7 separate regions of the Homo sapiens genome follow, and all the other regions are linked to region 5. The links are contacts of gene promoters, found by promoter capture Hi-C in blood cells and fetal thymus (Javierre and others, 2016). All regions are on one chromosome and are shown on one strand. The core of a region is centred on a gene start or on the middle of the fragment in contact, and the rest is flanking DNA. Distances in the headings are between cores, read along the strand shown. Region 1 overlaps ULK4 (unc-51 like kinase 4). Region 2 holds the start of TRAK1 (trafficking kinesin protein 1). Region 3 overlaps TRAK1 (trafficking kinesin protein 1). Region 4 has its middle 64 kb from the start of TRAK1. Region 5 holds the start of ZNF621 (zinc finger protein 621). Region 6 overlaps TRAK1 (trafficking kinesin protein 1). Region 7 overlaps TRAK1 (trafficking kinesin protein 1).

Region 1 (3,733 bases), core at 343-2,842, 1.4 Mb after region 5:
ATCTCAAAAACATCTTAAGGAAAAGAAGTGTGACACAAAAAAGTACATACCATAGGAACCCATTTACTTGAGGTTCAAGAACAGGCAAAATAATCTACAATGATAGAAGTAAGAACAGTGCTGGGGGCAGTGTTGAAGATGACATCTGGAGAGGGCAGGAGGCACTTTCTGGAGGAATAGACAGACTGTTTCTTGATTTGGATATTACATGACTGCATACGTTTGTTAAAAGTCATTGAACTACACACTACACTACTCGGGTGTGCCTTAAGACCCCAAAGATCCCCTAATCACACTAACACCTGCACTAAATATTCCTTATTCTCTTGGAATCCAGTACATTTCCCAATAGTACTTGTTCTACTTGGAAAGGCATCAGTTTACCAACGTAGTGAAATTTTCCCTGGGGTTGTGCTATCCACCCTTATATCCAGCATTTGTAGTGTGTGTCACAAGTTGTATTCTCATGGTGAGATAGTTTCTCTGTTGTGATCAGGTTTCCATGTTGCGGTCAAAGGGCCAAGAGATTTAATTGGGTTAAGTTTTACAGGAGAGGGTGGCATTTGTTCTGGATCCTGATAAGCCTAAAAAGTATCACAAAGCTTCTTGTCTGAAAATTTCTCCCACAGTGGCCCTACTGTGGTCTTTGAAAAATCTCTATTAGTCACCCCCCTGAATTAAGCCTTTGACGGACTCCAAAATGCTATCAAAATATGATCACAGAAGGGGATGATACTTCAAGGAAAATGAATTTGTTACATTATCCAGCAGTGTCCTAAAATGAAGGAACAAGAGGGCTGGGCGCAGTGGCTCATGCCTGTAATCCCAGCACTTTGGGAGGCCGAGGCGGGAGGATCACAAGGTCGGGAGATCGAGACCATCCTGGCTAAAACGGTGAAACCCCGTCTCTACTAAAAATACAAAAAATTAGCCGGGCATAGTCCCAGCTACTCGGGAGGCTCAGGCAGGAGAATGGCGTGAACCCAGGAGACGGAGCTTGCGGTGAGCCGAGACTGTGCCACTGCACTCCAGCCCGGGCGACAGAGCGAGACAGGTAAATTATGACACCTGAAAGTGTGGTTATGAAAAGGTCAAAAGCAAGGGAAAGTACTGAGGAGGACTGTCAACGCGACAGCTGAGAACAGCCAGTGGGGAGCATGATGGTAAATGCTATATGGAGAAGAGGAGAAAAAAGGCCATGAAGTCAAACTCTTCCTTACATGTAATTATTTTCTCGGCTTACCCTGCTGGCCTCCTCAACTGGAGAGGGGGCATTGGTACCATGATCCAACAGATCTGAACCAACTATAGATCAGGATGATACTGACATCATAGGCAATTGTGAGAAGTGAATGCACCCAGCACACTGGCTGGAACATATTAGATATACTCAATAAATGGTAGCATATGATGAACTTCTGCAAAGGAAAAGAGTAGAAATGCTTCTGCAAGGTATGGGACACAGGAGTTTCCAAGAGCTAAGACCCCTAAAAAGCAGGGACTTGGACAACCATTTGAATGGAGTGTTTATACATGCCTTGATTCCTCTATCTCACCTTTCTTACCAGATCATAAGCTCAAAAGTACAGGATCATTTCGCCCTCTAACACAGCAGACACTCAACAATACGCTTTTGGTGTTGAAGTGAGTGAATGAATCTTGGAAAAAAGAGAGGCTTCCCCAGGCTCTATAAATCAGGAATAAGGCAAACAGAAAACAGTGGCCTTTCTATATCCATTAAAACTCTTGCACATGCTGAACCTGCCCTCATCCTTCTTTCCCACACGTGACCGACCCCACATCCCTCTTCTCAACTCTCTTCCAGTTCTGGGTATTTCCCTCTCCATCTATGTGTTCTCTATGTATTTCTTGTTCCATTAGTGACTGTGACGTAAGAGACATCATGAAAGAATATTTAAGCCAGGCGCAGTGGCTCATACCTGTAATCCCGGCATTTCGGGAGGTCGAGGTGGGCGGATCACTTGAGGTCAGGAGTTTGAGGGCAGCCTGGCCAACATGGTGAAACCCCATCTCTACTAAAAATACAAAGATTCACTGGGCATGGTAATGTGCACCTGTAATCCCAGCAACTCAGGAGGCTGGGGCAGGAGAATCGCTTGAACAGGGGAGGCAGAGGTTGCAGTGAGCCAAGATCGCACCACTGCACTCCAGCCTGGACGAAAGAGTCTGGACTCTGTCTCAAAAAAAAGAAAGAGTGTTTATTAAGTGTCAGGCACTATGCTAAATATCTTATTATCTTAGTAAAAGCTAGATATGTCAACAAAATGCAAGCAAATTGAATTCAGCAGTATATTAAAAGGATTATGCACGATAACCAAGTGGGTTTATTCCTGGAAAACAAAAGATGGTTGAACATACGAAAATGTAATATACCACATTATGAAGGGGAAAAAAACGCATGATCATCTCAATTAATACAGAAAATGCACTTGGCAAAATTCAACAACCTTTAAAAAAAAAAAAAAAACTCCAAAAGCTAGGAATAGAAGGAAACTATCTCAACATAATAAAAGTCATATATGAAAAACCCAAAGCAAACAACATACTCAATGGTGAAAGAGTAAAGCTTTTCCTCTAACATTAAGAAGTAGGCAAGAATGTCTGCTTTCTCCACTTCTAGTCAAGAAGGTATAAAAAGTCCTAGCCAGAGCAATTACACAAGAAAAAAAAAGGCATCCAAATTGGAAAGGAAAAAAGTAAAATTAACTCTGTTTGCAAATGATGTGATTGATTTTATATGTAGAAAACCCTAAGGCCAGGCGTGGTGGTTCAGGCCCGTAATCCCAGCACTTTTGGAGGCCAAGGTGGGCAAATCACCTGAGGTCAGGAGTTCGAGACCAGCCTGGCCAACATGGTGAAACCCCGTCTCTACTAAAAATACAAAAAAATTAGCCAGGCGTGGTGGCAGGCACCTGAAATCGCAGCTACTCGGGAGGCTGAGGCAGGAGAATCGTTTGAACCTGGGAGGCAAAGGTTGCAGTGTGCCAAGATCACACCACTGAACTCCTGCCTGGATAGACTTTGAGACTCTGTCACACACACAGACACACACACACACACACACAAAAAGTAAAGTTTCCATAAAATAAACTGTCAAAACAAAAACAAATTTTGCAAAGTAAAATACAAAGTCCAGGTCCAACACTTAAAGATTAGCGGAATTTTTTTTTTTTTTTTTGAGACAGCATTTCACTCTTGTTGCCCAGGCTGGAGCGCAATTACACGATCTCAGCTCACTGCAACCTCTGCCTTCCAGGTTCATGCGATTCTCCTGCCTCAGCCTCCCAAGTAGCTGGGATTACAGATGCCCACCACCACACCTGGCTAATTTTTATATTTTTAGTAGAGACAGGGTTTCACCATGTTGGCCAGGCTGGTCTCGAACTCCTGACCTCAAGTGATCTGCCCCCTCCTCGGCCACTCAAAGTGCTGGGATTACAAGTGTGAGCCACCACACCTGCCTTTTTTTTTTTCTTTCTTTTTTTTTGAGACAGTGTCTCTGTCGCCCAGGCGGGAGTGCAGTGGCATGATCGCGGCTCACTGCAACCTCGACCTCCAGGGCTGAAGCAATCCTCCTGTCTCAACCTCCCAAGTAGCTGAGAGTAAAGCACACACCACTATGCCTGGCTAATTTTTCTATTTTTTCTAGAGACAAGGTTTCACCATGTTGCCCAGGCTGGTCCTGAACTTCTGGGCTCAAGTGATCTACCCA
Region 2 (3,875 bases), core at 212-2,711, 1.6 Mb after region 5:
CAAGGAAGCATTGAGACAAGTGCTTGAAGCTAGCACAAGAGAGGGCTCTCAATGGAAATGGTGTAGGATGGTGTGCATAACAGCAGCAAGTGGCAAAATTATAGCTCAATCCAGTTGCATTCATATAGAAGTTTGCTTAATTTCTCATTTTTGTCTGCAGTGTTTGCTTTTGTTTGTCTGTTTGAAGTAATGCCTGATGACAGCTTAATATATGCAAGTTGGCTTCCAGTAGCTTCTCTTGGTTCTGTGTTACCAGTTAAGCCTTGAGGACCTCCTGTGTGTCAGGGGTTTCCTGGATACAGAAAGGCACAGAGAAAGCCGGGGGTCCCAGCCTGGTGCCTAGCTGCTGTGCTAGGCCCCCACACACCTCCTCTCCCTTTTTGTTAAGTGGCCCACATGTGTTGTCCTCCGCTTGTGACTGAGTCCCTCTCCCACTTGCCTGCCCCCTGAAGGACACAGTTCCAACATCTCCCTTTTCTCTACTGCATCATTCTTTTCCCCTTGCACTTGGGTCTTTCTTATTAGTGCAGAAACATGCTATGATCTCCCTCTTCGGAAATAGAATCCTTCTCAGTCCCGTGTTTCCCGCAGGCCAGTGTCTCTGCTCTTCTGTTTGCTTACTCTAGTTTTTCTTTTGTTCTCTCTGGAGTCCACTGCAGGCAGGCTCATGCCCCACCACACTGACAGCCTGGTTCAGTCCAGGGGTCTGTCCTCTGCCTTCACCTTACTTCACTTTTCAGTGGTAGTTCACACTGTTGCCAAGTCCTGTGTCCTGGAAGTACAGTCTTTACTTGGCTTCTGGGTCCCCACACTCTCCCTGTTCTTCTGCCTCAGTGGCTGCGTTTCTTCTTCTCCCAAGCCTGGGAACGTTGAAGGGCCCGGGGCCCAGCCTTTCCGCCTCTTTGCTCTTATGTGTGCACCTGTGCAGCACTTGATCTCACCCAGCACACAGGTTTTAAAATCGCCTTCTGTACTGGCCACTCGGTGGTTTCTGTACTCAGCCTGGCCCTTCCTCCTTAAGGCCAGATGTCTCAGACTGACTCCACATGAGTTTCCACTTAGATGTCTAACAGGCATGTCAAACTCAAATGACCAAAAATGAGCTCCTGGTTTCCACCTGCACCTGCTTTTCTTAGGGTTTTCCCCATCCTTGTAAATGGTGCTTTCATTATTCTAGTTGCTCAGGCCAAGAACCTTGGAGGCATTTGTGATTCTGCCTTTCTGCGATTCATACCCCAGTTTGTCAAGAATTCTGTTGGCTGTATCTTCAGAGTATGTTCAGAATCTACCCAGCATTTACTGTGTCCCAGCCACCCCCATCTCACACCTGGATGACCGCACTGGCCTTCCAGTGGGGCCTCTTACTGCTACCCTTGCCTCCCTAAAATTCTTTCTCCGCTCAACCATGAGAGTTGGCTTTTAATACAATCAGATGGTTTAACTCTCCTCCAAACTTCCAGTGAGCTCCCCTTCTATAGAGACCTGTAAGGAAGGGGCTGAATGACAGGAATCCCTCTTTGCCCCGCTGACCTGCCTCCTCTGTGCCCTCCGTGCTCCAGGTACACTGGCCGCCTCACTTAACCTTGAACTCACCAGGCACATCCAGCCTCAGGGTCTTTGGATTGCCTTAACTCCAGATATCCTTATGACCCCCTCTTCCTTCTCCAAGTGACATTTTATTTGATGCTTTTTGTGACCCCCCCCCAATACAGAGTGATCTGCCTCACCTTTCCCCATCTCCCTTTCCTGTTTAATTTTTTCCCCCAAACTTAACCATCTGCTGAACTACTGTATTTGTGTTTTGTCTCCCAAACTTGCAGTAGACTAAAGTCGCGGAGGGCAAACTCTGTGTCTACTTTGCACACTCCTGAATCCAGTGACTAACGTAGTGCCTGCCTGTGGCCAGCGCTCAGTGAACATTTGTTGGGTGTATCAATTGTGTCAATTTGTGCAGTGAGTACTATTATCCTCTTTGTGTAAGTGAAGAGTCTAAATCTCGAAAGGTTCAGCACCTTGGTGAAACTCCTGAGTGGCAGGAGTTGCATCCAGGTCTGTAGGACCCCAGGGCAAGGGTTCTTTGCTGCCTAAGAATTTAGTCTAGTTGGGGAGACAGATGAGTGAGTAGAAATTGGCTGTACACCGAGGTTAGCACAATGATAAGCACAGCACAGTAGGGCACCAAGGAGGGTGCCAGGCTGAACCTTGGAGGGGAAAGGACAGGAGAAGACCACGAGGGCTTTGTGGAGGAGGCGATGACCCAACCGCATCTACATTTGTCCAAACACATGAATTGATCCTTGGGATTCTAGTGGCATCTGTACCAGTGAAATCCAGGAAGCATCCAGCCTGTTAAAGTGCTTTCACTTTCTTTGAATGTGACAGTGGAGGGTAAAGAAATGGCAGAATGTACCGCTGAAACTTCACAGCTGGGCGTGGTGGCTCACGCCTATGATCCCAGCACTTTGGGAGGCCGAGGCGGGCAGATCACCTGAGGTCAGGAGTTCAAGACCAGCCTGGCCAACATGGTGAAACCCCGTCTCTACTAAAAATATAAAAACTAGCCAGGCATGGTGACGGACGCCTGTAATCTCAGCTACTTGGGAGGCTGAGGCAGAATTGCTTGAACCTAGGAGATGGAGGTTGCAGTGAGCTGACACAGTGCTACTGTACTCTAGCCTTGGCGACAGAGTGAGACTCTCTCAAAAAAACAAAACGAAACAGCAACAACAAAAAACACAACAAAGAAGTGGCAGAATGTAGTGCTGAAACTTCAAACCCTATAGGATGTGGTGACTTGGGGGTTCTTTGTTGGGACCAGAGGAAAGCTGAGAAACAGCTCGGTGCTGTTGTGTTTAGCACTGGCTTGGTAAACAGGAGAGTAAACACAGACACTCTTATGCGTTTAAGGGATGGGCTGTCAGGTGATGGAGAACATGCTCGGATTAAAGTTTTATTAGGCAGTCATTGAAAGGAAGACATTAAATGGAAAAAAGTTCTCCGAGAGACCTAGACTATCCCCAAGAATGCATCTGTGGCCTCCCAGGGCTTTGCCAAGTGCAGTCTCAGGACACTGCTTGGCATTCAGCCCTTGATAAATTCACTCCTCCCCCAGTTCCCAGCAAGCCCTGAGATGAACAGCAGACTTTTTGTTCCACTTTAATTTTTAGGCAAAACCGAATGCCCATCACAAAGCCCCGTTCTCCTTGCTACTCCCCTTCCCCCAACCTAGAGGTATCACATTTTTGGGTGCGTCATTTTCTGTTTGGGGTGGCTTAACAAGATGAGCTGATAGGGTTCCCAGGCTGCCTGGAGTTACATAACCCATTGTGCTTCCAGGACAGCTCACAATCTTAGGATTTGCCCTAACAAGCAAACTCAGAAAACTGCTGAGGAAGGCACGGGAGGGTGGCTGTGCGAGGTACTGCCGGGGCTGAGCTCTCATGGAGGCTCTCTCTGTTCTCTGAAGTGCCTTTGGAGTTTATGTCTGCACATGGCATTGGTTTTTCAATTCGGGCAGCCCGTCAGGGCTCAGCCTCTGCCAGGACTCTGCCACGGCAAGCTCATTCGGACAAACGCCTGTGGTAAGTTTGTTTGCCAGGTCTGTCTGCTGTCTGTTTTCTTTGTGGTGTGGTCGGAAAGGAGAAAAGACCACAGGAGAAGCTGTCTCTCTCTTGCTCCGTGCTGCTTGGGAGGTTGTTCATGGTCATGTGGTAGAGAAATTGCCATGTTGAATGATAGGCAGAGCAAAGGGACTTCAGAGACACAACTACTGCCCTCACCACCCCCCCATCTCCCGTTCCCAGGTCCCCTTGTCCCCTTGCCCAGGCTCAGTAGGTGCAAGTGACACTTGCAGGGCATGAGCACAGGGCTGAGTT
Region 3 (3,713 bases), core at 492-2,991, 1.7 Mb after region 5:
TCAAGCAATCCTCCCGCCTCAGCTTCCCAAGTAGCTAGGACTACAGGACTGCACCACCACACCTGGCTAATTTATTTATTTGTAGAGACAGGGTCTTACTATGTTGCCTAGGCCGGTCTTGAACCATTGCCCTCAAGTTACCCTTCCACCTCAGCCTCCCAAAGTGTTAGGATTACAGGCATGAGTCACCACACCTGGCTCAGACTTCTTAGCTGTTACAACCAGTATTTTCTTTTTTCCCTCCCCTCCACAGTTATTTTTTGTGTTACCATGTTTAATATGATAAGATGGGATGCTGACACAGAAGTCAGCCTGGGCTAGGTTCAGTACAGCTCTGACTGTGACATTAGATAAATCACCCCACTTTTTGAGCCCTGTTTCCTATTTAGTTGTGGTTGTGAAATAGGCTGATAGCCATCAGACCAGACTGTGGTGAGGAGTAAATGTGAAGTATTTTATATTGTACCTGGCATCTAATAGGTGCTTATTAAAATGTTGGCTTCCCAAGCTTGCTCCAATCCAGGTCTGTAGGGCTGAGTTACTAGTATTGAGATCTGGACCAGCACTAGGGTCATGTTCTTAAATTATCTTTTTCTATTGGCCCACTGAGAAGCTAGTAAGATTCCCATAATCACCAGCAGCCCAGGTAAATGTACCTGGGGTGAGGTCCCTAGAGACTGTTGGCTGAGATCATAGCAGATAGCCAATCAGTGTTTTCCATCTGGCTCCGTTACCTGTTGAATTAATCTTGCCATCTGCTTATTGTGAAAGCCAAAAAGCTAAGTGTTTAAGAGTGCTAGCACTTTCTTGTCTCTTCATCTTACCTTACCAGTTTTAAGCAGGTGAAGAACAAACAAACCATTCAAACTAGAAAGATATCTGTGTTAAAAAGACCAAGGCGGGCAGTATTTTTTTCCTGTAATTTGCACTTCCTTTCTGCTTAATCATAACCAAGGTAGCATTTCCAAATAAATAATATGTAAATAAGGGAAAGGATACACTTCAAAGCTGTACATTATCCAGCAGGTTTCATTCTAGTATCTAAGCCCTGATGCTCCTCTGACATCAGTGGATTTTGGGGTTTCCTCTCCTTTGATGACTTGAAAATGTTTTAGCTGGAACACTGGGGTATGGAAGGAAAGCAGAGGGGGAAGGACGCAATGACCATAGTCATGTTTTCCCCACTGTCCGTGCCCTTTTCCCATAGAACTTTATCTTGGGGCCAACCAGGAACATGAAGTTTCCTCTCTTTCCTTGCCCTGTTTGCCTAATTCCTGCCTGGTTTTAATGTGGGTGGGAGGAGTGAGCAGGTCTTGAGTTGGTAATGGGAGGTAGCTCATATTACAGTGTTTGGCAAGTAAAGGAAGCCAGGCTGGGGAATGAGCTGGAGAAATGGAAAGAAAGAGGTAACTTGGGCTCTGAATAAGATGCAATTCATATTTATTTTTTAATTCTTATACCTTCTTATGTCAAAGGAAGGACTCCAGGCAGCCAGGGGATTGGTAGAATTCCCACATGATGGTTTAGGCAGCAGCAGGGAGGTGAAGCATGAGGTGTTCTGCCCAGTTGATGGGTTTGGCAAACCCCGCTGGGACTTTGGAACCAGCCAGAAGTGGAGATAGTCCATGAGCCCCATAGCATGACATAACTGAAATAGCACAGTCAGGTTTGAGAAAGCACCCACATGAGAATCTAGAAAGCCATTCAGTTGTGTTATTGACTAGGTTTCGGAGGCTCTCATGTGTAAGGCCTGTCACTGCTGAGAGTTAAGAGAATGGACACTGGAGCCAGCCTTGGTTTCAGTCCCAGATCAGTCAAGCCACTTGCCAGCTCTGTAGCCTCTAGCAAGTTACTTTCCCTTCCCGTACTCAAGTTTCCTCATCTGCAGAATGCAGACAGCAGGGATAACGTGAAGATTAAGTGAATTATAAATGTAGACCTCAGAAAAGTGTCTGGCGCTTAGTAAAAGCCCAGTAAAAGTTGGCTGTTCTTACATGGGTGTTCTTACATCCCAAGGCATGGGATAAAAATCTGAGCATGATGCGTCTTTTCACATAATGTTTTAGTTGTAATTTCACTAAATTTCCTTGGCTGTGGAGTGTCAGAGAATGCAAGTAATTCCATGCATTTCTGTGGCATCCTTAACTCCAAACAGCAGACCCTTTGTAGCCTCATTTCTTTCTCTTCAGCCCATCCTTGGGAGCGGGTGAGGAGAGGGAGTGATGGGGCAGCCTGTTGAACAGTTGGAGGAGAAAGGCCTATGAGACTCTTGTCAGGGCCCAGACCTCCAGCCTCCCTGGGTTCTTTCCCAGTGAATTGTAAACATCTCAGACCCCCTTCAGAAGGATGAGGAGGTTGGCATTTCCTTACCAGGGTTCTTCACTTCCCAGAGTCTATTGGCATACCCCCCTTTTCCCTTCCAAAAGTAGAGGTGACGTGGCCATATTGTACATGGGGTTTTCTCATCATCCTTCTCAGACTCCAGTGTACAGTCCCAAACTGAACATGGCAGTACAGTGGCTACTTTAAGACTTCTCGTGGTGCTATTTTGTTATCAGGAATGTGCCTGCACAGCCAGTGAGCATTTGTACTGGGGCCCATTAGGTAGTGTGAATGGGAGTCCGCAGGGACAGCAGAGAACTCCTATCAGCAGGAATATCTCCTGGCAGGCCCTGGACACCCATCTGGAAATTCTGCTGCTGACCATTTGTGCAGCTGGGACACTGATGTCCTTCTTGTTCTCAGACCTGTGGGTTTTGATGGGTGGGCAGTGAACCCATCAAATGGGTTAGTTCTGAACCCCGGCTATGCCACCACTAATTAAGTGGCTTTGGAAAGTTATCTAACTTCAGGCAGCCACCATTCCCCTATCTGTAAAGTATATAATCATACTCAGTTCCTAGGATGGTTTCAAGGAGTGAGCTGATATAATACATGTAAAACAAACTGCGATGCAGGCCTGCCTCAATATAGGGAAGCTTAATTTAAAAAATCACAGTGATGCTGTGGCATCTGGGACTCGGGAGCCCACGAACTGGTCTCTGCAGGTCTGCGAAGCCCCGGCGTTGTTTGCACAGTGTTGCTAGCATGCACACTTCCTTTAGGAAGTGGGTCCACAGCTTCCTTCAGATTCTCGAAACATCTGAGAGTTAAGAACCACAGCTCTAGAGAAAGGCTTCTCAATCCCAGCCCTGCTGACATTTGGGACCAGTTTGTTCTTTGTTGTGGGGGCTGTCCTGTACATTGTGGGATGTTTGGCAGCATCTCTGGCTTTTACCCCCTAGATGCCATTAGCACCAGATGCCGTTCGTCCACAGCTGTGACAACCAAACGTGTCTCCAGACATTACCAAATGTCCCTGGGGGAGTGGGGTACGGGGCGCAAAATTGTCCCTAGTTGAGAACACCGCTCTAGATGCATCTTAGCACCTAGTGAGAGAACGGATATGTGATACCCTCTTTCGTTATAGTCATTCTTATTTCTTTTTTTCTTGAATTTAGAATATTTTCTATTTATATTTAATAGATCCAAATTAAGTATGTTGCTATTGTACCCGTGAACCCTTAAAACTGGGATAAGCCTTGATGTGGGTGTCTGGGAACTCTTTAAACATGTATTGGCAGTGTGCACCTTTTTTTTCCTTTTGAGTGGATTTGAAATTGTTCATTTATAAATCCCTTTCAAGCCTCCCTGGCTGAGATCGACACATGAGA
Region 4 (3,979 bases), core at 122-2,621, 1.5 Mb after region 5:
GGTGGTGAGCTCATTAGGCTGGGGACACCAGCTGTGCTATTATTAGGGCTTTTAAAGTCCGTGGCAGATGTTCTTAGGCGGTGTTCCAGCCTTGTTCACTTCCCACATATGGCATGATACTGTACACAGAAAAAAGAGGGACTCTTTAACAAATAGCTTTTCCATGAAATGCATCACTATTTTTTTCCCATGAACTTTTTTCTTTTCTTTCTTCCTCTGTCTCTGTTTCTTTGTTTCTCTCTCTGCTGTTTGTTCTTTCTTCTTTCTCCGTTTATCTTTCTCCCTCTGTCTCTTTCTTGCTTTCCTCTATTTTTCTGTATTCTCATTCTCCCTGTCTCTCCCTCCATCCCTCCTTTCTATACTTCCTTCTTTTGTCCTTTGAGGCCCTTTTTATTTAATCCTTTGTGAAACTAGAAGAGGACTCAGAGGCACATGAAGAAAGTTTGTCTATTTTAGATTAAAAGTGAGCCTTAGCATTTCATAGAAAGTATAAGAAATGTGGGTAAGTCTCAGGGTGATCATATACTAGAGAATTTTTTTGACAAGAGCCTGTTTTGAATTGCGTGGTTAGCTTGCTGCCTCTTCACTCCTCTGGCACAGTGGTAGTTTTTGTACAGGATCGCTTTTACCTCAATGGACTGATAAGCTAGCCAGGGCACCGATTATTTTTACATACCAATTTGTGTGTTGTTTGTTTGGCTAATCACCTCTTCTGCAGCTGTTATCCTGGATCTCAGTGATCAAAGAGATCAGTGATCTCTTTTTTTTTTTTTTTTTTGAGACAGAGTCTCACTCTGTTGCCCAGGCTAGAGTGCAGTGGCATGATCTCAGCTCACTGCAACCTCTGCCTCCCAGGTTCAAGTGATTCTCCTGCCTCAGCCTCCCGAGTAGCTGAGACTACAGGCACGTGCCACCACGCCTGGCTAATTTTTGTATTTTTAGTAGAGATGGAATTTCACCATGTTGGCCAGGCTGGTCTTGAACTCCCGACCTCAGGTGATCTGCCTGCCTCGGCCTCCCAAAGTGCTGGGATTACAGGCGTGAGCCACTGCGCCTGGCCAGTGATCAACTTTTGTCAGTAAGCTTCCATGTGTAGACCCTCCTTCTCCCCTCATATTTATAGTAACCCATGTCTTAGCTTGGAGTTATAGGGTATAATCAATATCAAATTTACTTAAATAACTGCTCTGGTAGACTGACTTTCTACAGGAAATGGGCTCTTATGTGAATGTAACCTCAATGTATACTCTTTAATAAAATCTCAGAATGATGCAAGCTTCATTATAGTTGTTTCCTACTGTTTATTTCAAATTTGATATTTTGATATATTTACACTAATTTTATAGCTAAGCACAAAATTAATTACCCCATCATTTTTATTTCAAAAATAATGAGATAATATGTGCATACATTAGTGGCATATCTTACTCTAATAATGGCCACAACTGTCAGAAGTACATTTTCAGAAAAGCTTTTTGGCCGGGCGTGGTGGCTCACGCCTGTAATCCCAGCACTTTGGGAGGCCGAGACGGGCGGATCACGAGGTCAGGAGATCGAGACCATCTTGGCTAACATAGTGAAACCCCGTCTCTACTAAAAATACAAAAAATTAGCCAGGTGTGGTGGCGGGCACCTATAGTCCCAGCTACTCGGGAGGCTGAGGCAGGAGAATGGCGTTAACCCGGGAGGTGGAGCTTGCAGTGAGCCCAGATCACGCCACTGCCCTCTAGCCTGGGAGACAGAGCAAGACTCCATCTGAAAAAAAAAAAAAGTAAAGCTTTTCTAATCCAGGCGTTTTTCTTCAAAATAAAGTAAATATATCTATTTTCAAAAAGTACTTTTGTATTTTAAACATTATTTAGTTGTAGAAAATATTTTTTAAAAAGCCCCAAACCTAAACTATACAGTGAGGCCAGTATGAGAATAGAGGTACTGAAATGGGTAACTAATTATTTATTAATATGTTTATTTCCCTGCGAATTCAGAGACTGGGAAAGAAAACCAGGAACAACCATTTTTCACTTCTCTAATTTTATCTGAAGGAGGGGAATCATAAAGTAGGAAGCCTTTTATCTCAATGGCAGACTCTGTTATTTTTTTTTGAGATGGAGTTTCGCTCTCGTTGCCCAGGTTGGAGTGCAGTGGTGCGATCTTGGCTCACTGCAACCTCCGCCTCCTGAGTTCAAGCCATTCTTGTGCCTTAGCCTCCTGAGTAGCTGGGATTATAGGCGCCAGCTATCATGCCCAGCTGATTTTTTGTATTTTTAGTAGAGACGGGGTTTCATCATGTTGGCCAGGCTGGTCTCAAACTCCCGACCTCAGGTGATCCACCTGCCTTGGCCTCCCAAAGTGCTGGGATTACAGGCATGAGCCACCACCCCCGGCCACAGCCTCTGTTCTTACAAACTAGTGGATACAGGTGCCGGAACACCAGGCCGTGGGCCACGTGTTTACATGCTGCTCCCCAGTAGAGTTGCTGAGTGGTTTATGTTTATTCCGGAAATACATGGTTCACTCTGATTTTACAGGTCTTCCGCAGGTAAGAATCACCTTTGATTAGAGTCAGGGGATTCCTGGCAGAATGGGGAGCTGGAGACCCACTTAGATCAGTGATTGCTAAGTGTGAGCTGTGTGGCTTCCCTGGGCCAGGCACTGAGTTATGACAGTAAATGAGACAGTCCAGGTCTGGGGGCAGACCAAAGAGACCCAATGTAGTAATAGATGTAGGATATGATACCAGGTAGTGACTAGGGGAGAGAATGAGGTGGCAGCAGAGGTGTCTTTAGGGAGGTTATAGGTGAGCAGAGATTGAATGGGGATTGAGCCATGGGAACATATGGAGGAAAAGCTTCCCAGGCAGAGCAAACAGCAAGTGCAGAGGCCTTGGTGAGAAGGCCAGTGTGGCTGCAGTGCAGGGGACCCTGGGGATAGTGGACGTGGATGAAGCCAGGAGATAGTCAGGGGACGGCTGCATCCCACTGGCCTGCTGGCTGTTGTAAGGAGTGGGTATTTTAATCTGCATATGATTGGGAACTACTGGAGGATTCTGAGTATGGAGGAAGCTGCAGGGGAGTGACAAGAATTGATTGATTTTTAGATGATTTATTTATGAGACGGTATGTTAGTCTATTCTCACATGGCTATAAATAAATACCTAGGATTGGGTAATTTACAAAGAAAAGGTTTGATTGGCTCATGGTTCTACAGCCTGCACAGGAAGCATGGTGCTGGCATCTACTTGGCTTCTAGGGAGGCCTCAGGAAACTTACAATCATGGTGGAAGGCAAAGGGGGAGCCAGCACTTCACTTGGCTGGAGCAGGAGGAAGAGAAAAGATAGAGGTGCTACACACTTTTAAACAGTACCAAGGGGGATGGTGTTAAACCATAAGAAACCACCCCCATGATCCAATCACCTCCCACCAGGCCCCACCTCCAGCATTGGGGATTACAATTCAACATGAGATTTGGGCGGGGACAGAGATCCAAACCATATCACAGTGTCTTGCTCTGTCACCCAGGCTGGCATGCAGCGGTGCAGTCTCAGCTCATGGGAGCATCAACCTTCTGGGCTTGAGTGATCCTCCCACCTCAGCCCCTCCAGTAGCTGGGACTGCAGGTGCGCGCCACCATGCCTGGCTAATTTTGCTTGTTTTTTTGGTAGAGATGGGGTCTCACTATGTTGCCCAGGGTAGTCTTGAACTCCTGAGCTCAAGGCATCCTCCCTCCTTGTCTTCCCTAAGTGCTGGGATTACAGGTATGAGTCAGTGTGCCCAGCCTGATAGAATTTTTTTTTTTTTTTTTTGAGACAGAGTCTCACTCTGTTGGCCAGGCTGGAGTGCTGTGGTGTGATCTTAGCTCACTGCAACCTCTGCCTCCCCGGTTCAAGTGATTCTCATGTTTCAGCCTCCCAAGTAGCTTGGATTACAGGTGCGTGCCACCATGCCTGGCTAATTTTTGTATTTTTAGTAGAGACGAGGT
Region 5 (4,059 bases), core at 1,025-3,524:
CTCCGCCTCCTGGGTTCAAGTGATTCTCCTACCTCAGCCTCCCAAGTAGCTGGGGTTACAGGTGCCCGCCACCACGCCCAGCTAATTTTTGTATTTTTAGTAGAGACAGGGTTTCGCCATGTTGGCCAGGGTGGCCTCAAACTCCTGACCTCAGGTGATCTGCCTGCCTTGGCCTCCCAAATTGCTGGGATTACAGGTCTGAGCCACTGCACCCGGCGCAGGAAGGGAAGTTTCACACTAATAGCTGGCATCTATGTGCCAACCATGTGAGTGAGTTACCTTTGAGGCAAATCCCCAGCCTCAGTCCAACTTTCAAGTGACTGCAGTCCCAGGTGACACCTGACTAGACCCTCATGAGAGATCCCAAGCCAGTACCATCCAGCCAAGCCACTCCCGAATTCCTCATCCACAGAACCTTTTTTTTTTTTCCTTTTTCTCTTTTTAGGACTGACTGACTATGTTCACTGATTCATAGAAACTTTAAGAGATAATAAGTGTGTTTTGTTTTCAGCCATAAGGTTTTAGGGTGATTTGTTATGCAGCAGTAGATACCTAAGATACTCTCCATAATAGGACTTCATAAGTCAGTCTAATTCTTAAGAAAGGAATAACAAATCCAAGAAGTGGGACCCCTGTAATAAAGCAATATATCTAGATATCCAGGATCATTTTTTATCTTTTAGTGGTGGGAGACCAATTCCCCTTTATAGCATGGAAATGCTTGGTGGTGAGGAGCCTGGTATCTGGAACTGTGTTCAGGAGAAGTTATCAGCGTGATTAAAGTAAAACAAAGTCTGGGCCGGGCGCGGTGGCTCACGCCTGTAATCCCCAGCACTTTGGGAGGCCGAGGTGCACGGATCACAAGGTCAGGAGATCGACACCATCCTGGCTAACACGGTGAAAACCCGTCTCTACTAAAAATACAAAAAATTAGCTGGGCGTGGTGGCGGGGTGCCTGTAGTCCCAGCTACTCGGGAGGCTGAGGAAGGAGAATGGCGTGAACCCAGAAGGCAGAGCTTGCAGTGAGCCGAGATTGCGCCATTGCACTCCAGCCTGGGCGACAGAGCGAGACTCCGTCTCAAAAAAACAAACAAACAAAAAACAAGCAAAAAAAAAAAAAACAAAGTCTGTCCATCTTAGCAACCACTTTGATACTGGAGAAAGGCTCCTGTCCAGAAGGAAGGGCACAGTAGTGAGGTACTTGCCAATGAGCTGGGTAGAGCTGCCACTGGCTGGCTTCGGGAAGTGTTTATCACTGACTGGCTCATGTTCAGAAGCTTGGAGTGAGGCTGTTGTGTACTGGTTGATTTTCAGAGTACGTGTACTGATCTAAAATTATGTAAATTAATGGCAAGTACTTGTTAGTGACTTGGGACTTTGGTCAAAAAACAGTCTTTTCCTTTCCTGAATATGAAAAGTAAGTTCTTTTAATTAGCAGCCTCCCCTCTTCACTGTTTTTTCTTCCTGCAGTCCAACTAACAGAACAGACCATAAAGGTCTGTCCAGATCATTATTTATGGAAGTATGAGATATATATATTTCAGCTGGTGTTAACATTTTATTTAAGTGCCAGTTACTGAGCAGAAAAATAGCTGTAACTACGAGTTTTTGTAATTTATTGGAAAAAGCTAAATATAAGACATTTAGGGTGTCCTCCCAAAGTCAACACAGGACAAGATCATTTAATATAGGACATGTCCTGTGTATACAGGATGCCTAGCAACTGTATGTAGCCACGGGTGTTTTGGTTGTTAAATGAATCTGTCCTAAAAGGTTCTACGCACATCTAGGTCCTTGGAAGGGAGAGGGCTAAAACGGCGAGTGGAAACCATGGTTTCCCTGAGGACTGCCCAGCTGAGGACCCAAGCAAGATCCTGGGCTTGGGCCTCTTAGAGATGACAAAGCAGGCGCCATTCTCCCCTCACCTGCACGGCCCAGGCTTCAGGTGAGCCACGGGGCCAAGGCGGCCAACAGCTGAGGCGCAGCCCGTGAACTGGGGGCCCACTTGTGCCTAGAGGGCGAGGTCTCGGTAGAGCCAGGCTGTATCAGTCCGTGACACTCCAGCCAGAGGCGATGCCGACGGCTGCCGGAGAAAGCCGGGCTTAGAGCGCCACAGTTCCACGCCCGCCGCCGGCCTCTCAGCCCAGCCGGTCGCCGCAACCTCGCCTCTTCCGCAGGGCGGGGCCAGCCATGAAAGGCGGGGCGGGTCTGGCCACGGGGCGACCGAGATGGCGGCCTCCGGGGGCCTAGAGGGACCCTGGGCGTGCACTCGCCCTTCCGGCTCGGCCTTTAGTTAGTGACCAGCTCCTCGGCGTTCTGCAGAGCGTGGGTTTCAGCGAGTTCTACGTGCCAGGTCCGCCCGGTGCCGGCTTCCTCGCTGCCCCTGGCGGCTCGTCAGCCCCCACTACCCCTGAACTTGGTCCCAATGGCGGCCCGCCCCTCCTTCACCCGGACCGTGGGCATCTGGGCCTCGCCGAAGCCGTCAAGGTGGCTGCTCGGGCTTCTAGAGCCCGTGTCCAGCCCTTTGCCACCGAGGCCTGATCCTCTTTTCTGCCCTAAAGAACTTGCCCTGACAGCCTCTGGCTCCCGGTACTGACGTTTCTGATGTTTGGGGTTGCCTGTTTTCTTGGGTGGAGTGTTAAGATCACGGTTGGGTGGGGTCTCCGGTCAGCATCACCCACTGGGACGCTGAGTATTTTACCCTTAATCCGCATTCAGCCACCCCAGTCCCTCTTCTCCTGAGGTTCTTTCTTTTGGGTCCACGTCATCGTCCCTGTAAGCATTCTGTAAAGACTCTTTACGTTTGTAGAGACCCAACACAATAGGGACAGGGCTCTTGGGTCCCTCAGTTTACCCGTACGAATGGGCTCAAAAAAAGCTCTTCGGACTGAGCAGGCAGGTGGAAGATTGTCCTGAAGACTAGGCAGAACAATTCATAAGAAGTTTGGGGCTATCAGCGTGAGAACAATTAGAGGGAGTCCTAGTAGAATCTCCGTGCATCCAGTGCTGGAAATGTGGAAACTGGGAGGGCCATAGGTTGCTGTAGGTGGTGGACGACAGGGTCCTTAGCACTCATGGCTCTTTTTCTCTTAGCTCTTGAGGATCTTGCTTGTCCAAACCCAGAAGACAGTGCATGAAGCCAGGGGACATCCGCCATGCTCCAAACAACTTGGCCTCAGGTGAGCTGAGCTTCTTTCAGTTTTTTTGTTTGTTTGTTTATGTTTTTTTACTCACATTAGCTATCAGATAATCAGGAAAGGATGAGGAAGGCCTAACTTGGCCAAGCTGTGTTTTCCCCTTTGTATCTATCTCCAGGGCTATGGCAGATGTAAATATGTGCTGGGGAAATGAAAGTTTTGTGTATAGAGAGTGATGAGTTTGGATGTATAGATTTAAATGGAAGAAAGGGGACCTATACCAAGAAATTCTTTCTGAATGTGGAAATCCAGATCGTGTTCTAGAAATGAAAGTCACCTACTGAAATCAGACTCATTTTTTGTGAGACGGAGTCTCACTCTGTCGCCCAAGCTGGAGTGTAGTGGCACTATGATATCGGCTCACTGCAGCCTCTGCCTCCTGGGTTCAAGTGATTCCCATACCTCAGCCTCCTAAGTAGCTGGGATTACAGATGTGCGCCGCCACGTGTGGCTAATTTTTGTATTTTTAGTAGAGACGGGGTTTACACCACGTTGGCCAGGCTGGTCTTGAACTCCTGAGCTCAGGTGATCCACCCGCTTCGGCTTCCCAAAGTGCTGGGATTATAGGCATGAGCCACCGCACTAGCTTGAAATCAGAAATTCTTTATTGGAGAGATTGCCCACAAATTGTATTGTATGTATCCCAGAGAGACTAGTATTGTTGCTTTAATATACATTTTCTAAATGCTAGATGCAAGGACTCTGAAGTTGCAGAGAAAGCTGGATGTACTCTAGAAACTGGAAGGGGTCAGAGAAAGTGGTTCAATATGAGATGGAAGAAATAGATACCTGTATTATAGGTCATGGTGAGGACAGTGGTTTCTGTACTGGTTCATTGGGAAGGCACTGAAGAATTTTAAGC
Region 6 (3,986 bases), core at 1,166-3,665, 1.7 Mb after region 5:
TTAAAGCTACTTGTCAGGCTTCGAACCCCCTGAGCCCCATCCTCCAGGCTGCCCTGTTTTCTGTGTGCCCCAGGAGGGCAGGTGTCCTGCCTTGTTCAGTGCAGAGCTTGGTGCGTGGTAATGGTTGTTTGGTGTTAGTCAGAGGTGAGGCGTGTGTATTTTACTATGGTGGGTAGGCAGCAAGTTGCATTTAACTTCTTTTTCTAGGAGATGGACCATAATTTTCTTATATTAAATTATCATAGAGACTGAGCACGGTGGGTCATGCCTGTAATGCCAGCACTTTGGGAGGCCGAGGCAGGTGGATCACCTGAGGTCAGGAGTTCGAGACCAGCCTGGCCAACCTGGTGAAACCCCATCTCTACTAAAAATACACTAATTAGCTGGGCATAGTGGCAGGCACCTGTAATCCCAGCTACTTGGGAGGCTGAGGTGGGAGAATCGCTTGAACCAGGGAGGCCGAGGTTGCAGTGAGCCAAGATTGCGCCATGGTACTCCAGCCTGGGCGACAGAGCGAGACTCTGTCTCTAACAAAAGAAAAAAAAATTATCGTAGAGGTTTATGGTGGCTCCTTTATTTTGCTTTTCTTTCTTTTTTGAAACATCTTTTGGGTGGAAGTGGATTTATTTGGTAGCACTCCTTGGGTCAGAAATGGAACTTCTCTTTGAAATACATTCTTATAGAGAGAGAAACTTGACCACGGTTGATTGAAGATTTAGTGCCTAGGAAGTTGGTATTTGAAAAGCATAACCTGTGTTTATGCTGTCTGAAGGCATGGTTTATTATTTTTTCACCTTCATTGGTCTCACTCTTGCTTCCTTATTTCTTGGAACAGGAAATCTAAAACCTAGAAGTTAGTTGGTGGCTGCTCAGAGCCCCTTGGCTTGGATAGAGTCTCCTGAGAAAACCTAAGCCTCTGAACCCAAGGTCAGGGTTCTTTCTTTCCCCTAGGCCCAAATGCTGCTCGCTCTGTTTACACACTTCCTACACATCGATGGTTTGTGCCTTGCTCTCGTGTCCTTTATGGTCTTCCGTTTTAGTACAGGAGCCAGACTGGCCTCGGTGCAGTCTCTGCAATGCAGCCTCATTCTCTGTGACCTCAGTGGGGTCCTTAACATCCAGATTCTTAATGTCTCAGAGCCTCAGTTTTCTTATCTGTGGAGTAGTCATCGCGACTACCCTGCAGGGTTGTTGTGAAGATTAATTGAGAAAGCATGTTAAATCCCTTGACATGATAGGGGCACCATCGGTGTTAGCTGCTACCTCTACCGAGAGTCTGTTATTTTGACATTTGCCACCTGCTAGCTGTGTGACATTGGGTGAGTTATTCAGCGTCTCTGGGCCTTAGTTTTCTGTTGTAAAATGGTGTTAATATAAGTGCTTACCCCTTATAGTATTGCTCTGAAGATTACATAAAATAATCCATATAGAGGGTTATGAATGGTGCCTGGCCATGGTCACTGTGCTTAGTAAAGGTCAGCTCACTGCAACCTCCACCTCCCGGGTCCAAGCAATTCTCCTGCCTCAGCCTCCCAAGTTAGGATTACAGGCATCTGCCACCACGGCTGGCTAATTTTTGTGTTTTTAGTAGAGACAGGTGTGCATTTTATTGGGTTCAATTTTTAAAATATTTTAAAGCTTTATAAAATAGCAACACAAGGGGTCCTTGTAAGTGGTAGATACATGAACCAACACAGGTAATAAAATTACATAGAGCTTAATACACACATGTGCACACAAATAAGTGCAAGTAAAACGGGAACTCTGAGGAAAAGTTATGGATTGTATCAGTGCTGATATCCTGGTTGGGATATTATGATCTTGCAGAATGTTACCATTGGGGGAACTGGATAAAGGGTATACAGGATCCCTCTGTATTATTTCTTCAAGATGGAGTCCTGCCCTGCTGCCCAGGCTGGAGTGCAGTGGCACGACTTCTGCCTCCCGGGTTCAAGTGATTCTCCTGCCTCAGCCTCCCGAGTAGCTGGGACTACAGGTGTGTGCCACCACACCTGGCTAATTTTTGTGTGTATATATATATATACACACAAAATTTTTATATATATGCAAAATTATATATATACAAAAATATATATAAAATTTTATATATATACAAAAATTTTTTTTTTAGTGGAGACAGGGTTTTGCCATGTTGCCCAGGCTAGTCTCGAATTTCTAACCTCAAGTGGTCCATCTGCCTTGGCCTCGCAAAGTGCTGGGATAACAGCCATTAGCCACCTCACCCGGCCCCCTCTGTGTTATTTCTTCTGTCTGCTTGTGGTTATCTACACATGACTGACTATCTGAATAATTACAGTTACCTTAATTCAAAAACTTAGCCTTAAAAATTTGAGTATTATCTCTAAATAATATAGTGTTAGAGAAATAGCAGCTCTGAATCTTCTTGTACAGATAATAGAGCCAGGTTAGTTAAAAGGTAGCCCAGTTTTCTTTTTTTCCAGGAAGGCAGAGGACTCAGTTTTTTGAGGAGAGTGGGCGCCGGTGAGTGGGGATAAGCAGGCCCTCAAGTGACAACACAAATTTAAACACAGAGACCACTTAGTTGCTGTGGTCTGTTACCTGGTGTATAAAGGGTGCTGCAGATGCTTTGGCGTGCTGGCTGGGGGGCCCCAGGGTTTGTATCTGCACGCCTGCAGACCATCACAGCTGTGCGTGAAGAAGACTAACTCGGGTTGGTAGCATAGGAGTCTTCACTTAAGCACTTGTGTGACCTCGAGCTGATGGACTATCTAGAGCAATTTGAGCTGGACTTCATCTACATCAAATTAGATCCTGGTTTAAAGCTACCCTTATAAATCTCCCTTGCTTCTCCCTCCCTGGCAGCTCTGTCTGAGGCAGCATATTTCCCCCCACGCTTGGACAGGAGGGATCTCATGAAAGTGTTGGGTGGAGGGGTCTTGTCTGCTGGCTCTGGTGGCACTGTCTTGGTAGGGTTTCAGATTTAGAACCAGATTTCAGGTCTCCTCCCTAAGTTAGAAAATCATTCCAACAGATCCGATTTCTCTGAGCTAATTTACTAGGATGATCTCTACTTGCATTTAATAAAATATTCAGAGACCTATTGAATTCCAGTTGCTGTTTGCCATTTGTAATGCTGCTGAGTTTGACTTAGTAATACACTTCAATTCCCAAATGTGTCGCATGGGCTGTTACTGAATGTGGGTCATTAGGAAAGCTTTGACTCTTAACAGAATTATTCACTGAAGTCTTAGTTACAAAACATTACTAAGAAGTTATTTATTTAGTCCCAAAGTGACAGGTTTCAAAAAATTTTGCACGTTGGCTGGCCATAAATCCATTTATATTCACTCCTCCCCCAATAGAATAAAACTTACGCTACCTTCTTGGTGTTTGTTGAGCGGCGAATCAGTTCCTTGTCACTGATTTAAAATAAAACAACCCTGATGTATCTTTAGCAGACAAAAGCGTTCTTTTGTTTCACAACCCATTTCTCCAACGGAAGAAGAACAAAGACCCATAGTCCTAAAGTGCTTGTGTGCAGCCTTGTATGACCACAGTAAATTGTACATGTAATGAAATATTACTCTGTGTGTGTGTGTGTGCAATCATAGTAGTCTTTTTAATGTATATTTAAAAAATAACAACCTAGTTTTCATGGTATGGAGCTGGTTGCATAACCTTAGAATGTAGGCCACTTGAGGAGGAGGGGGCTATGCCATTATGAAATTATCAGTTTAAGACTATTGTTTAATAATTATGCCAACAGCTGCTTTCTGAAGGATCCCAGTCTGTTCGTATGGTTGGGTCTGTATGGTTAGTGGAGTCTAAATCCTACAGGCCTTTCTGATCATTCACACATGGGTGGCTGTGCTACTGGCCCCCACCCCACCTACTTCAGTTTGCTGAATATCTGTGAGGCCAGACCCCCTTCCACTCCATTGCTTCACCCTCAGCACATGCTCATACACACAGACACACAATGTCAAGGTTTCACAGGGGTTACG
Region 7 (3,815 bases), core at 1,224-3,723, 1.6 Mb after region 5:
ATCATGAGGTCAGGAGATTGAGATCATCGTGGCCAACATGAGGAAACCCGTCTCTACTAAAATACGAAAATTAGCCTGGCGTGGTGGTGCGTGCCTGTAGTCCCAGTTACTTGGGAGGCTGAGGCAGGGGAATTGCTTGAACCCAGGAGGCGGAGGTTGCAGTGAGCCAAGATTGTGCCACTGCACTCCAGCCTGGTGACAGAGCAAGACTCCGTTTCAAAAAAGAAAAAAAAAAAAAAGAAATTAATTATTTATAAACAAGAAACTTCATCTGAACTCCCAGATTAGAACAGTAAAACCCAAGAGGTTGGAGGGAGATGGGTGAGATTAAGTGCAAAAAGATTATTCTATTTTTGCTGTGGATAATTAGGAAAATACAGGTTAACCTCTTAGCCTGTAACCTCTTGGTCTGTTAACCTCTTTGCCTGTACAGATAGTACCTTTAAAGGTAACTATCTGTATCAGTAAGGATTAAGTTTGGCTGTATAGAACAGTGGCTTCACATTATAGAATTTATTTTTCTCTAAAGTATAAGAAGTTCAGAGGGAGACTGTGCAGTACTGGTGCAGCCCTGCTGTCCCCAGGGTTCCATGCTCTTCCTGTCCTTCAGTTCTACCATACTAGATGTCGTTTCCATCCTTAAGGTCATGTCACATCTAAGAAGGCTGCGGAAGCTCCAGCCATCATGTCTGAATTCCAGGATGTAGGGAAGGCAGCCTTTGAGAAAGGCTCTCACACCAGTGCTTTTATCTCATTGGCCAACACTTAGCCTTGTAGTCTCATTTTGCAGCAGGGGAGGCTAAGAAATGTAGTTTTTCCATGGGGCTCAGAGCTTTGATACTAAGAAGAGTATGGATAGCGGATGGCCACCATGTGTCTACCATGTCTCCTTGACTATAATTAAAAATATGATGCAGGCTGGGGGCAGTGGCTCAAGCCTGTAATCCCAGCACTTTGGGAGGCCAAGTGAAGTGAATCCCTTGAGCTAGGAGTTCAAGACCAGCCTGGGCAACATGGGGAAACCCCATCTTTACTAAAAATACAAAAAATTAGCCAAGTGTGGTGCTGCCTGCCTGTAGTCCTAGCTACTTGGGAAGCTGAGGTGGGAAAATCATCTGAGCCCAGGAAGTTGAGGCTGCAGTGAGCTGTGATCGTACCACTGCACTCCAGCGTGGGTGACAGGAGTGAGACCCTGCCTTTAAAAAAAAAAAAAAAAAAAAAAGATTCAAACATTCAACATTAGCATTCCCTAACCTAACCCACATCATGACCCTGACAAGAAAACAATGGTATTTGCATAGCATGATGGGTAAATGATGGAAGTAGTTCTTAGCTGATGGTCACCCCGGACACTACCTGGCACCCTCCATTCCCAGCACTGCTTGTGGAAGCTCTGTTCTAAATCACTAGGAGAAAAAAGAATCTGGTGGCACATACTCTACAATGCAAAAGACAGCAAAGTGATGAAACCTCCAGAAGTTGAACCACCAAGAGGCATGACAATAGTAAGATGAGTCTTGCCCAATTTGACCATAATGCTCCTGTTTGAAGGCAAAGTCTCAGAATGGGTCAAAAAGTGAAGCTTTATCTATGTGCTTTGCTTAAGAAATTCTCAAAGTATGCAAAAGACTGGAAGTTGGGCTAGGAGAAAATTTAGAGAAAGAAGAGTTATAAGGAGGGATTATTTAATCAGTGAGGTCAGGATCTTTGGGGCCAGGGGCAGGCGTGAGTGGTGGTTAGGATTTTGACCTCCGAGTTCAGGCTCTGTTAGAAAACCGGTTCACTATTTACAGGCTATGTGATGTGGGTCTAGGTATTCAACTTCTCTGTGCTGTAGTGTATTCATTCTTATGTCAAACGGGGATAAATGTTAGGACTCTTAGGAGGATTAAATGAGTTAATGGATGTAAATGCTTATAAGTGCTTATGGTACCACTCCATAAGTGTTTACCATTATTACTGATGTGTTTGTTATCATTATAAGAAAGTGCAACTGGATCCCTGCATAACTCCATCAAACCCAATAAAATCCAGATGGTTCAAAAGGTGATTCAAAGATGTAATGTTGGCTGCTACCCTAGGCACACTGCCTGTGAATTAGCCCTGCTCAGCAAACAGCAGTTAAAATAAAATAGAAAGAAAAGATATAATGTTAAAAATTCAACTGTGAAAGTGCTAGAGGAAAATATTGCTGGATATTTTACTAATCTTGAGATGGGAAAGTCCATCCTAAACATGGTATAAAGGCTAGAACTATAAGGAAAATGACTGATCGCTTTGAGTGTGCAAAATTAAACTTTACACAGGCATTCTTTAACTGTGTATTTGTTCCTGAAAACATTGTGTGTGTTCATGCACACGTATGTTTATTGTGGCACTATTCACAATAGCAAAGACTTGGAACCAACCCAAATGCCCATCAATGATAGACTGGATTAAGAAAATGTGGCACATATACACCATGCAATACTATGCCACCATAGAAAAGGATGAGTTCATGTCCTTTGTAGGGACATGGATGAAGCTGGAAACCATCATTCTCAGCAAACTGTCCCAAGGACAGAAAACCAAACACCGCATTTTCTCACTTACAGGCGGGAATTGAACTGTGAGAACACTTGGACACAGGATGGGGAACATCACACACCGGGGCCTGTCATGGGGTAGGGGTGGCGGGGGGGATGGCATTAGGAGATATACCTAATATAAATGATGAGTTAATGGGTGCAGCACACCAACATGGCACATGTATACATATGTAGCAAACCTGCACGTTGTGCACATGTACCCTAGAACTTAAAGTATATATATATATATATATATATATATATATATATATAAACTTTGTGTGTGTTGCAAAATTGGACACTAAAAATACCAGGAGTAATGCAACTTTGTAACCAGAACACTTATAAAAACTGTCCATGTGGGGATAACTTGAATAGCCCAGACGGGCAGTTCCCGGCTGTGGCTGGAGCCACACAAACAATAGAGGGAAAGGCTGTGGGGTGTGTATGTGTGTGTGTTGAGGGGTGGGGGTTGATGGATCTGGGGCTTCTGCTAAGGTGAGCACAGGAGAAAATACAGCCCCCTGTAAGCTGAGAGCCATGCAAGGCTGAGGTGCTCCTCTCTGGGGATGGAGTCCTACACACAGAGCTTTTTAAGTTCCTATGAAGTAGTCCTGAAAGGGTTCCTCCTGCCTTTGCAGCATAAGAGCTGAAGGGCTTTTTTCCCATTGAGGGTTGTAAACATTCACACTATTCTGACTTCCCTTGCCCAATTCAGCTTCATGTGTTGAATTTTGTTGTCCTGGCTGAGCCCCTTGCCTTTTATAGGTGGGGTGTGAGCTTTGCCATTTGACAACCAAGCTTTTTGTGGCCCAGGAGGGAGTAGAGGAGTAGAAGACAGAAAAGCAAGTCTTGCCTTGTGTATTTTTGTGACCAGGAGAAAGGCATCATTTTGGCAAAAGCCCCAGGTCTCCCACAGGTGTTCAGTGAAGGTCCTGGCCGCTCTGCTCAGTGTTTGTGAGGGTCGATTTTCCCAGCGCAGGGCACTGCAGGTGCTTGTGAAGAACCAGATGGCTGCTCATTCCATCCTGCAGCATTTATTCAGTGTCTGCTCTGGCCCTGAGCAGACCCTGTCTTTGCCCTCTTGGAGCTGTGTAGTCCAATGACAGAGACTGCTGGTAATCAATCACTAAATCAGTGACTACAAATTGTGATGGGTGGAAAATGCCAGGGGCCAAGGGGGTAACTTAGCCCACCTATCTAGGGAGGTGGCCCTGAAGAAGTCAGTCCATCTGGGATCAGAGGGCA

The links. The method cuts DNA at HindIII sites, captures the fragments that hold promoters and counts their contacts. A CHiCAGO score of 5 or more calls a contact.
Region 1: a contact is called between a fragment that was not itself captured here and the fragment with the promoter of ZNF621 in region 5, in 5 of 17 cell types (non-activated CD4 T cells, total CD4 T cells, activated CD4 T cells and 2 more). The highest score is 9.3, in non-activated CD4 T cells.
Region 2: a fragment that was not itself captured here is called in contact with the fragment with the promoter of ZNF621 in region 5 in 1 of 17 cell types (total CD4 T cells); the score reaches 6.1 in total CD4 T cells.
Region 3: a fragment that was not itself captured here is called in contact with the fragment with the promoter of ZNF621 in region 5 in 1 of 17 cell types (total B cells); the score reaches 5.8 in total B cells.
Region 4: a contact is called between a fragment that was not itself captured here and the fragment with the promoter of ZNF621 in region 5, in 3 of 17 cell types (total CD8 T cells, naive CD8 T cells and total CD4 T cells). The highest score is 6.4, in total CD8 T cells.
Region 6: a contact is called between a fragment that was not itself captured here and the fragment with the promoter of ZNF621 in region 5, in 1 of 17 cell types (total CD4 T cells). The highest score is 5.2, in total CD4 T cells.
Region 7: a fragment that was not itself captured here is called in contact with the fragment with the promoter of ZNF621 in region 5 in 1 of 17 cell types (total CD8 T cells); the score reaches 7.5 in total CD8 T cells.

What each region holds. Positions count from the first base shown.
Region 1 is chr3:41,946,251-41,949,983 of GRCh38, forward strand. The region is part of intron 2 of ULK4 (unc-51 like kinase 4); the gene reads right to left. Among named protein-coding and RNA genes, the nearest start is that of ULK4, 14 kb to the right of the region's middle. The HindIII fragment of the contact is 1,985 bases long and covers 601-2,585 here.
Region 2 is chr3:42,087,980-42,091,854 of GRCh38, forward strand. It overlaps TRAK1 (trafficking kinesin protein 1), which reads left to right and starts at 3,378. Exons shown (of 16, transcript NM_001042646.3): 1 at 3,378-3,581. The coding sequence starts at 3,491. The HindIII fragment of the contact is 9,137 bases long and covers 1-3,875 here.
Region 3 is chr3:42,204,682-42,208,394 of GRCh38, forward strand. All of the region lies in intron 13 of TRAK1 (trafficking kinesin protein 1), which reads left to right. Among named protein-coding and RNA genes, the nearest start is that of CCK, 60 kb to the right of the region's middle. RefSeq lists enhancers at 1,448-1,527, 1,768-1,817. The HindIII fragment of the contact is 2,470 bases long and covers 507-2,976 here.
Region 4 is chr3:42,025,765-42,029,743 of GRCh38, forward strand. It overlaps a transcript of TRAK1 not described here. Among named protein-coding and RNA genes, the nearest start is that of TRAK1, 64 kb to the right of the region's middle. The HindIII fragment of the contact is 195 bases long and covers 1,275-1,469 here.
Region 5 is chr3:40,522,686-40,526,744 of GRCh38, forward strand. It overlaps ZNF621 (zinc finger protein 621), which reads left to right and starts at 2,275. Exons shown (of 5, transcript NM_198484.5): 1 at 2,275-2,589; 2 at 3,094-3,179. The coding sequence starts at 3,156. RefSeq lists enhancers at 1,877-1,966, 2,245-3,057, 2,617-2,756 and a silencer at 2,157-2,316. The HindIII fragment of the contact is 8,303 bases long and covers 1,276-4,059 here.
Region 6 is chr3:42,172,618-42,176,603 of GRCh38, forward strand. All of the region lies in intron 2 of TRAK1 (trafficking kinesin protein 1), which reads left to right. Among named protein-coding and RNA genes, the nearest start is that of TRAK1, 83 kb to the left of the region's middle. The HindIII fragment of the contact is 1,558 bases long and covers 1,637-3,194 here.
Region 7 is chr3:42,107,293-42,111,107 of GRCh38, forward strand. The region is part of intron 1 of TRAK1 (trafficking kinesin protein 1); the gene reads left to right. LOC124906231 (a long non-coding RNA gene) reads left to right here. Exons shown (of 2, transcript XR_007095889.1): 2 at 1-2,050. Among named protein-coding and RNA genes, the nearest start is that of TRAK1, 18 kb to the left of the region's middle. The HindIII fragment of the contact is 1,786 bases long and covers 1,581-3,366 here.